Linked DNA regions of Homo sapiens: region 1 is linked to region 2. The links are contacts of gene promoters, found by promoter capture Hi-C in human tissues and cell types (Jung and others, 2019). All regions are on one chromosome and are shown on one strand. Each heading gives the region's core, a stretch centred on a gene start or on the middle of the fragment in contact. The rest is flanking DNA. Distances are from core to core; before and after follow the strand shown.

The links. Contacts are between HindIII fragments. The study calls those that stand out against the background at their distance.
Region 1: a fragment that was not itself captured here is called in contact with the fragment with the promoter of SLC9A3 in region 2 in 2 of the 25 tissues and cell types used here (lymphoblastoid cells and thymus).

What each region holds. Positions count from the first base shown.
Region 1 is chr5:577,138-582,351 of GRCh38, reverse strand. No RefSeq gene overlaps it. Among named protein-coding and RNA genes, the nearest start is that of CEP72-DT, 32 kb to the left of the region's middle. The HindIII fragment of the contact is 6,374 bases long and covers 1-5,214 here.
Region 2 is chr5:521,136-526,224 of GRCh38, reverse strand. SLC9A3 (solute carrier family 9 member A3) reads left to right here and starts at 1,776. Exons shown (of 17, transcript NM_004174.4): 1 at 1,776-2,113. The coding sequence starts at 1,903. It overlaps LOC107986395 (a long non-coding RNA gene), which reads right to left and starts at 1,567. Exons shown (of 2, transcript XR_001742543.1): 1 at 1,262-1,567. RefSeq lists an enhancer at 1-209. The HindIII fragment of the contact is 12,710 bases long and covers 1-5,089 here.

The sequences.
Region 1 (5,214 bases), core at 1,186-3,685, 55 kb before region 2:
GCTAACCCACCGGAAAGAAAAAAAAACTCCAGACACGTCTAAACCTCTGAAGGAACAAACTCCGGACACCATCTTTAAGAACTGTAACACTTACTGCAAGGGTCCGCGGCTTCATTCTTGAAGTCAGCGAGACCAAGAACCCGGTGGAAGGAACCAATTCTGAACACAAGGGAACCAGGGGACAGAGGGAGACAGCCTCTCTGCCAGGGCCTGGCTGCATCTGCTGGGCAGAGGGCAAAAGAAAGTTGTGTTGTTTTGTTTTGAGATGGAGTCTGTGTTGCCCAGGCTGGAGTGCAGTGGCACCATTTCAGCTCACTGCAATCTCTGCTTCCCGGGTTCAAGTGATTCTCCCACCTCCGCCTCCCAAGTAGCTAGGATTACAGGTGCCCGCCACCAAGACTAGCTAATTTTTGTATTTTTAGTAGGGATGGGGTTTCACCATGTTGGTCAGGCTGGTCTTGAACTCCTGACCTCAGATGATCCACCCACCTCTGCCTCCCGAAGTGCTGGGATTACAGGCATGAGCCACTGCACCTGATCAGAAAGTTTTAATTATGGAACACTCCTAACGTACACGGAGGCAGAGAGAGTCAGCCGCCCCTCACCACCTTCTAACACACTCACATTTGGCCGTGTTTACTTCACCTATTATCTTGGTGGAGGGACTCGCGTTGGCTTATAGACATCACGCCATTAGACCCCTGGGGAACTCAGCAGAGCAGATGTCTCTAAGGAATAAGGCCTGTTTCCTATGGAGCCCAATACAGTAGGCCCCAAACAAGCACAATTCCCTCGCATCAGCCAATCCCCAGGCCACATCCACTTTTTCCCATCGTCTCAGAAATGCAGACTCCTGGCTGCTTCAAACATCCAGCCGAGGTGTGTGTTGCATTCAGCGTTTGTGGCGGTGCTGGCTCGACATGGATTCAGTGTGTATGGGGATGCTGGCTTGGTGTGCATTGAGTGTTTGTGGGGATACTGGCTTGGCATGCATTCAACCTTTGTGGGGATGCTGGCTCAGTGTGCATTCAGCCTTTGTGGGGATGCTGGCTCAGTGTGCATTCAGCCTTTGTGGGGATGCTGGCTCAATATACATACATTCAGCATTTGTGGGGATGCTGACTCAGTGTCCTTTACTCAGAGAAGTACAAAGAGAAAAGAAAGTAGACCAGCACCTCACTCTTTATAAAACTTCTGCTTATATCTTTAGAAAGTAATCAAGGGTAGGTGGGTGAGACCAGGAGATTCAACCTGGAGAGGCATGAAGAGAAACCGGCAGCACCTGCCCAGCCTCTGGCCAGGTTGGCCCTGCCAAGGTTTTGCTGTTCATTCCTCCTTTCAGAAACAGGTATGCGCGCATCTCTGTATTCATTTTGTTTTCCTTTTGCACCAAGCAGCATTTCCCTTTGTCTGTGGCTCGTTTTCCTCACCAACTGAAAATGGCAGAGGGTTTCGTCCCTGAGTTCCGGCTGCTTGTGCCTCCATCTAGAGCTTCAACAACAAAACGCCAGGTCCAACCAGCAGCTTGAAAATTTACCTCCAATAACAAAGTTACTAATTTACAAAGTGACTTTGGATGTAAACGTGCTGAAAACTTACAACTACTAATGGTGTGTGTGTGTTCACCCTCCTCAAATCCCATGCTTCCCCTCCCACCCATGTCCTCGCTGTGGCCGCAAAGGTCCGGAATCCTCTCGCCTTCTGCTGTGACTTGGGCGGCTCATGTCTACATCCCACAGACAGGCCCTGCCGTGCACAGCTGAAACTTGAACACTGAGGGTTGCCGAACCTGCCACGGAGATGCGTTACTTTGTTCATTCTCTTCCTGTTTTTCTAATTCTGTAGCAACCAGGAACACAAATGAATCTGATCTACATTAGTAAAGATACCCGTGTGAAGGTTTGGAAGTTGAAAATATTAAATACCAGCAGAATTTAAGAATTAAGAGCAAAGAAGGAAACGCCTTGGGCTTGGCATCACATGAATACCCTACCCGGGCAGAGCAAATGTAAAGAGATCTTTAAAACACACACTGGGAGGCAGGATGAAATTCAAAACACGGCAGAGCTTATTGGGGAAGGAAATTCTGCCACCAACTTAAGGATTATGTTAAAAGGATGCTCACACACTGAGTTAACACCTGGGCTCTCATGTGGTGGACCCCTGGCGGGCCCCTGCTGGGATCCTGGGGCTTTGCTGAAGATTCTTATTTGCAAAGTGAAGCCACCTTTGAGCACCTGCTGTGTACCCAGCTCTGCCTTGGGTGTGAGGGAACAACCGGGCTGTGGCCCCGCTGCTGTTAGGGAGCTCCAGACAGGGTCGAGGCCACCTACAAGCAAACGACTCTGCTCAGCCTGGAGGCACAGGGCGCACGGCGCTCCCCGGAACTGAGTGAGGAGTCCTGGGGCAGGGGAGGACTTGGAGGCCACTAGGTCAGATGTCCCTATCATAGCCGGCACAGGGATTACCCTGGAGCTCACGGGAAGCTGGGGCCAAACCCGGACGGGGCAGGTTGAAGCCACATCAAGAAGAGGGCTGTGGAGGGAGCACCCAGAACCACACCCCGAGCCAAGGCCAGGATCACCCCCGAGCCAAGGCCAGCATCTGAGGCAGCCCACACCAGGGCTGTCTCAGATGCTGCCACAGCCACCCCGAGGACCCTGGATCTTTACAGAGAGGCCACAGGTGGAGATCAGCCAGGCTTTCTCCACCCTGAGAGCTCAACACAGCTGCCTACCTATACTGCTATGAGCCTCCTTAAGGAACCTGTGCTGCTATGAGCCTCAAGTCCTTTGAGAAACAAGACAGTGACGGGGAAATAAAAATGTAAGTGGTGGCGTTTGTGTGTGTGGAGTCAGCACACTGTGGCATCCCCGCATAGCTCAGCCTCCATCTGGCTGTGCGGCTCTGGCCAGGTCACATGACCTCTCGGTGCCTCGGCGTCCTTATGTGAGGGTGGTGGCCACAGTCCTGATGTGCCAGGCTGAGCCGTGATGAGCTACAACGCTGCCTGGCACCATGAGCTGTTCTTCTCAAAGGACTGGTTTTTAAAAATCAAGGTCCCCTGACACTCCCCATCCTGGACTCAGCCCTTCTCTGCTCACCCTCACCCCAGCTTCATCTCAGACCTGCTGGGATCGGATTTGGGATTGCGTGGAAAATGTAATTGAATCTGGGCAGAACTTGACATCATAACCGTAATGAATGTTTTTATCCGTGAAGGCTGTCTCTCCATTTATTCAGCTCTTTAATTTCTTTCAGCGACATTTTATAGATAATGTCGTTTGCTAAATTCAGTCATAAGTATTTTATGGTTTTGATGGTATTATAAACTGAATAATTTAAATTTTTATTTTCAGATTATTTGCTGCTAGTATATAGATACAGAACTGATTTTTGTTTACTGATCTTATGTTCTGAGACCCTGTGAATCTCACATTCGTTCCAGTAGTTCTGAAGACTCCTTAAAATTTTCCTTGTAAATAATTGCATCATCTGTGATTAGAGATAATTTTACTTTCTCCCCACCAATCTTTCTTCTTTTTTCTCCCTTCCTTTGTTGTCCGGCTACAACCTGGGGTAAGAGGTGTTGTGGAGATGGAGTACACTTCCTTGCCTTCTCCCTGGTCTTAGGGGAGAAGTGCCTGGCATCTTACCATTGTGTATGATGTGGGTGTAGGTTTTACATGATGCCTTAGATTTCCAAGAGCTTCTATCTTACATGGATTTTGAATTTCGTTAGAAGCTCTTTCTGCTCCTATTGATGTTTCATATGGTTACTCCTTTATTCCATCAATATGGTGAGTTACATTGGTTTGGTTTTCAGACACCAAACTCATCTTGCATTCCTGGAAAAACCCTACTTTGTCATGATGTATTATCTTTTTTTATAAGTTTGTGGGTTCAGTTTGCTAGTAATTTGTTTACAGTTTTTTGGATCTATCTTTATGAGGGATGCTGATCTGTAATTTTCATATCTTATAATGTCTTTGCCAGGTTTTGACATCAGAGTTAAGCTGGCCTCATAAAAAAGCTAGGAATGGTTCTCTTCTGTTTCCTTCTCCCAAGTTTTGAAATGTTTTATTAAATATTTGCATTATGTTGTTTCATCGACTATTTGATAAAATTCATCATTGAAATCATCTAGCTCTGGAGTTGTCTTTCTGGAAAAGTTTTCAATAACAAGTTCATTTATTGAATAGATATGGGAATATTCAAGTTTTCTATTCCACTTTGTGTCAATTTTGGTAAGTTTTATTTTCAGAAAAATTTATTACATAAGCTCTCAAATTTATCAGCAGAAAATCATTTGTTATGTTATGATATTTCCTGTTAACATCTGTAGGGTCTGTAATGATGTCATCTCTTTTCTCCTGGCATTGATAATTGATTATTGCAGTTTTCCTTTGATCAGTCTTGTCAGAGTTTTATCAGTTTTATTAACCTTTTCAAAAAACAACTTTTGTCTTTATTGACTTCTCTATTTGTTTTATAATTCATTAGTATCTCATCTTTATAATTTTTTTCCTTCTAGTCCCCTCTTATTTTGGATTTAATTTGCTCACCTTTTTAAAACTTCTTAAAGTGGAATCTTAGATCGTTTCTTTGAAAATCTTTTTTCTAATGTGAGCACTTACAGCTATTATCTCCCCTCTAAACTTATTTTTAGCTCATCTTGAGAGGAGAAGCAGCTGGACTTCCTGGGTCGAGTAGGGACTTGGAGAACTTTTCTGTCTAGCTAGAGGATTGTAAACAAACACCAAATCAGTGCTCTGTGTCTAGCTAAAGGACTGTAAGTGCACCAATCAGCACTCTATAAAAATGCACCAATCAGCACTCTGTATCTAGCTAAAGGGTTGTAAATGCACCAATCAGCACTCTGTAAAAACACACCTGTCAGCCTTGTGTCTAGCTAAAGGACTGTAAATGCACCAATCAGCACTCTGTAAAAATGCACCAATCAGCACTGTGGGTCTAGCTAAAGGATTGTAAATGCACCAATCAACACTCTGTAAAATGGACCAATCAGCGCTCTGTAAAATGGACCAATCAGCGCTCTATAACATGGACCAATTAGCAGGATGTGGGCAGGGACAAACAAGGGAATAAAAGCTGGCCACCCCAGCCAGCAGCAACAACTCATTCGGGTCCCCTTCCACACTGTGGAAGCTTTGTTCTTTCACTCTTCACAATAAGTCTTGGTGCTGCTCACTC
Region 2 (5,089 bases), core at 527-3,026:
GCCAAGAGCGACTCCGATGCTCCCACCTCGCAAGACCATACTAGTGGCCAGTCACACACTTCCACTCCCCCGGTGCCCTGTCCAGACCCTGCAGTGGCCCAGGCCAGGGCTGCCCTCCCTCCACGCCACTCAGCAGCCGAGTCACCAGGCGAGCACCATCTGAATGCACCTTCCCTGTGCTACACGGGCCACTTCCATTAGCATGAAACTGGGGCCCTTGCAGGGTGAAGTCATTGAACTCAGCACTGTCCTCCTCAGGCCTCCGCAGCCCCCACTCAGATGTCAGAAGACACATCCATCCTCCATCTGCACCCACCCCACCGCCCACCTGCCCTTTGTCCACCTATCTGTCCTTCCATCCATCTATCATCCATCCGCTCAGCCACTATCTTGCGAGTGCTATTGTGTGCCCAGCTATCTTCCAAGCTCCTGGGATGTATGCATGAGCCCCTTGCTCGTGGAGCAGACATTCCCAGGGTGAGGGCAGACAGCTCAAGGTCAAAGCCAGCAGCCCCCAGGGCTGGGAGGTGAGCTGATTCCCGGAGCCAACCGAGTAAGCAGGGGAGGCGGGAGCTTAGCTGCCACAGTTGTGAGCTGAGTGGGTATCGGGTGGGACCAGAAGGTGGCATTGGAGCCAAGCCCCTGGGGAGCTGAGGAAGGGAGCACACAAGAGCCGTCCAAACAGAGGGAGCAGGGCGTGCAAAGGCCCCGAGAGGCGCCGATTGCTGGTGTGGGCCGTGGAGTGCATGGGGGTGGGGGTCAGGCAGTGGCTGGGGTCTGAGCTCCCGGGAGACGTTGAGCCTTTCCTCTGAGAGGGAGGGTCCCAATAGGAGGGACTGAAGGGGCAGGTAGAGGGCCGAGCAGGAGCCTTTGCAGGTGGCTGCAGGCTCCCAGAAGCCGCTGGTTTTGTGCACATTTTGAAAGTAGAGCAGATATGCTAAGAGCTTGGAAACCTTGTGAGCGAAAGAAGTCCACCTGCGTCCCAGGTCTGGGGCTGGAAGGCTGCAGGGTGGGCTTGGAGGAAAACAGGGGTGTGGTTTGCACAGTGGAGCCTGAGATGCTTAAGAGAGCCAGTGCTGCCGGAGCGGGCTGTGGGCAGAGGCCCCGCATCCGTGTGAAGCCCTGGGGGTATCGAATTGTTTTGGGCGGAGGTCTAAAGGCAGGGGATGGGGCAGGGGAGACCACGGGGGCCCCTGGGCTCCCATCTCAGAGCCTGGGGTGGGGGATGCTGGCTGGCGATGGGAGGGGCAGAGAGACTTACCAGCGCACCACGCAAGGCCTGGGCGCCCCCGAGTTCTGGTAAGTGGCCGGTCCGGCTGTGGAATGCAGGTTCCTGCTGAAGACAATAGCGAGGGGCTGTGTGAAGACACACCTGGGGCCCCTGTGCACCCTTGGGCCGCCCTGTGGGGTCTGCGCAGCCCCAGGCCCTGCGTTTATGAAGGAGGGTTGGGGCGAGCGCACCCACAGCTGCCCGGGCATCCCAGGAGCTGCGCGGAACCGCCTGTCCCGCTGCCCCGCGCTGTGCTCCCCACGCCCCAGGAAGGCGGCCGCGCAGTCCCGGGCTCGCTCTTGCCGCGACCTCCCGGACCTCCAGGCCGCGGGCTCCGGGGGAGGGTGGGCACCAGGGAGCGCGGGGTGGGCGTGCGCGGGCGGGGCGGGCGTGCCGGGAGCTGCGGCGGTGTCTGCGCTCGCGAGTGCGCGGCGGGGGCGGGCAGGCTCCGCCCCGGGGCGGGAGGGGGCCGCGGGATTAAAGGCCACCCCGGCGGGCGGGGATCGGACTGTAGCCGGTACCGGCACCGGAGCGCGCCGGGTCCTCGCCGGGTCCCAGCCCCGCGCGTCGGCCCAGCCCAGCCGGGACCCCCCGCGACATGCGCGTCCCAGCCCTGCGCTGAGCAGGCGGCAATGTGGGGACTCGGGGCCCGGGGCCCCGACCGGGGGCTGCTGCTGGCGCTGGCGCTGGGCGGGCTGGCGCGGGCCGGGGGCGTCGAGGTGGAGCCCGGCGGCGCGCACGGCGAGAGCGGGGGCTTCCAGGTGGTCACCTTCGAGTGGGCCCACGTGCAGGATCCCTACGTCATCGCGCTCTGGATCCTCGTGGCCAGCTTGGCCAAGATCGGTAAGTGGCCCCGGGGTCTCCGGATCTGCCCGCGGGGTGTGCGGCCGCCTCTGCTGGGCCTGGGGGCTTCGTTGTGGCCGCGCGCATCAGGTCGGAGCCGCGCGGCGGCCGCCCGGGAGAGTCCGGCTCTCGGGTCCAGCAGAGCGAGACTCGGGAGCGACTCTGGCCGCGCTAAGCCGCCCCTGCGGGTCCCGAGGTCTCCCCTCCCCGGCGGGGGCACAGCCTCGGAGCCCCGGACTCCCGGCTCCCGGGTCCCTGTGGGGTCTCCGCCCCGCCTCCGCTCCGAGCCCCGCAGACTGCAGGCTGCTCGCGCCCAGGGAGTCCCCGGGGCCGGGTTTCCTTCGGGGTTCTCAGGCTTTTTAGAGAAACGTCCTTGGAGTGATGGCGTTTTTTCGTGAGTTACAAGGGCAGAAAAGAAAAGCGGTGCTACCCGCATGAAACCCAGCAGAATCCTCCCTACAGGCGCAGCGTTCCCATTGGCGGGCCTCCTTTTTTTTTTTTTTTTTTAGAAAATCCCGGTCGGTCAGATTTCTCTTCTTCTTAACCGGCGCCAATGAACCAGTAATGTGGGCACGGCAGGTAGCTCCTGGCAAGGTGACAGGAAGGTCAGCTTCCTGAGGAGCTCGTGGGGATCAAAGTTTCATGTGTTGGTCCACAGGGTAGGGTCTCTCCAGGGGTGGCAGGGAGGTGGTCACTCGTGTGGAGGGGGGATTAGGGGGCCCGAGTGGGGCCAGGAGAAGCAAGATCAGAGCAGCAGGCGCCGCGGCAGGTTTCCAGAGCAGCTTTGGACTGGGGCGAGAGGAGGTTTCGATGCTGGGGCCGAGGAGGGGCGCCCACGCAGGACAGGGGAGGGACAGGCTCCGGGGAGAACAGCTGAGAGGACCTTGGCCTTGGTGGAACCTGGTACGCCCAGCAGGCTTGATTGGAGAAGGCGCCTTTTCCTTCAGTGACGCCTGCCGCCTGCCCTATTTATGCCAGGGTCTCCCCTCCCCTTCAGGCCCCTTGTGTGTTTGCTTTCTGTCTCATAAGGGCTCTTCTGAGCCCTCCCGCCTCCTCCCTTCTCCGCAGCCTCCTCCTCGCCCTGGTGTCTTTCAGCTCCCCGCCGGGCTGCCTGCTCTCCAGGCTCAGGCTGTCCTCCCTGGGCTTTCCACTGGGGGCTTGGGATGCTGGCCGGGGGGGAGTCTCTGAGGCTGGCTGCCTCCTACAGTTGATTTCCTTGAGAAGGGCCCCTGGGGCATCAGGGAGGTCCAGACTCAACCTGGGCTCTGCGGCCGCCCAGTCCTAAAGCTCACCCTGCTTTCCTCTGACGGGAGTGCCCCCCTGGTGTAAACTGAAAAGGTAATTTCTTTTTTTTTCTTTTTTTTTTTTTTTTGAGATAGAATTTTGCTCTTGTTGCCCAGGCTGGAGTGCAATGACGCGATCTCGGCTCACTGCAACCTCCACATCCTGCCTCAGCCTCCCGAGTAGCTGGGATTACAGGCATGAGCCACCACGCCCAGCTAATTTGTATTTTTAGTACAGACAGGGTTTCTCCATGTTGGTCAGGCTGGTCTTGAACTCCAGACCTCAGGTGATCCACCCGCCTCGGCCTCCCAAAGTGCTGGGATGACAGGCGTGAGCCACCGCGCCCGGCCGTGAATATCTAATTTCTGTACAAGCTGGGGCCTCTCCCAGTTTAGCCCAGTGTACAGAGTCAGAATCTGGCATCTGAAGGTCCAATGACAGCCGCCAGGCACCAGCCAGCCCCGCCTGGGAGCCGGCAGATAAGGCACACTGACCAGGGCTTTGCCTGGCCTCAGAGTTTGTTATTCACAGGGAAAAGCCTTCAGGTCTCCCAAACACTTGGACTGGTTCTGGGAAGACGTCCTTGAGGGCGGGGAGGCTGCCGGCTCCAGCAGCAACTCCCCGGGGCAGGGCGGTCCTTTACAAAGGCCCACCCTGATAGCACTCAGCGGCTGTCTTTGTCTCGGATTGTTGGCTCCACCTGGGAAGGCGAGCCTTACCCTGTGCAGCTGTGGGAGCTCATCGCGGTATCCCACAGGCGCAGACCCTCTCCAGACCTGCCCTTTACGCTCCCTGTCGTCCCCTCAACCCACTGTGCACTCTGCAGCCCCGGCAGTGACAGCTGAGGTCTGCTCTGGGTCTGCCCGGATTGGCCCCCAGGGTGTCCCACCCTCCATCCCCTCTCTGCCAGCCACACCTCTTGAACACAGCCCCCAGCCCTCCCTGTGTGCTTCCTCCCCCAACCCCTTCCCTGTGAACTCTGGACTTCTCAGATTCCACTGGCCCAGACCGTCCTCCTTGTGCAGCCAGCCTCAGGTGCACGACCTGTGTTCCCAGAGGACCCTCAGGTCCAGGCCTTCACAGACACCGGGGCCCAAGCCTGCACCACAGCGGGAACTTCTCCAGTTTCACCCAGCCTCCTCCACATGCCCACAGCCCCCGGACTGGGGTCTGAACCTACTAAGCTGCTTGGCACATTTTGTTGTTTAAAATGGTCAGGGGTTGGCCACACTCTTTCAGTCTCAAGTTACACGAACAGAAATGTCTCTTCCAGCAGAAAAGAGCTGCCATTCCTGTTGCTTTTCCAAACATTTGTTGAATTTCTCACACATCCTGAGAGTTTCTAACTCACAGCCCCAGCCTTCTTCAAGCCATTTGTAACCTGGTTGGGGAAATAAGAGTCCGGGTACCCTGAAACCCACAGCAATGTTGATCCCAGGAGATTTCTACTCCAGGCAGCTTGGGACAGAGGATGGCCAGAGGGCCAGAGCTGCCTCAAGCAAACACTGGGGCTGGGGCCTCAGCAGGTGGCCCAGGAGCCTGGGCAAGGAACAGGTGCTGCTGTTGGCCCACCAGCCTCAGGCCGCGTGTCTGGCTCCGGCAAGGGCTCCCCACAAGCCCCCTATTTGTGTGCACTGGGGTTCCCCTGCCTTTTACAGCATCTTTTTAAAATGCAGAAGGGGAGGCAAGGGC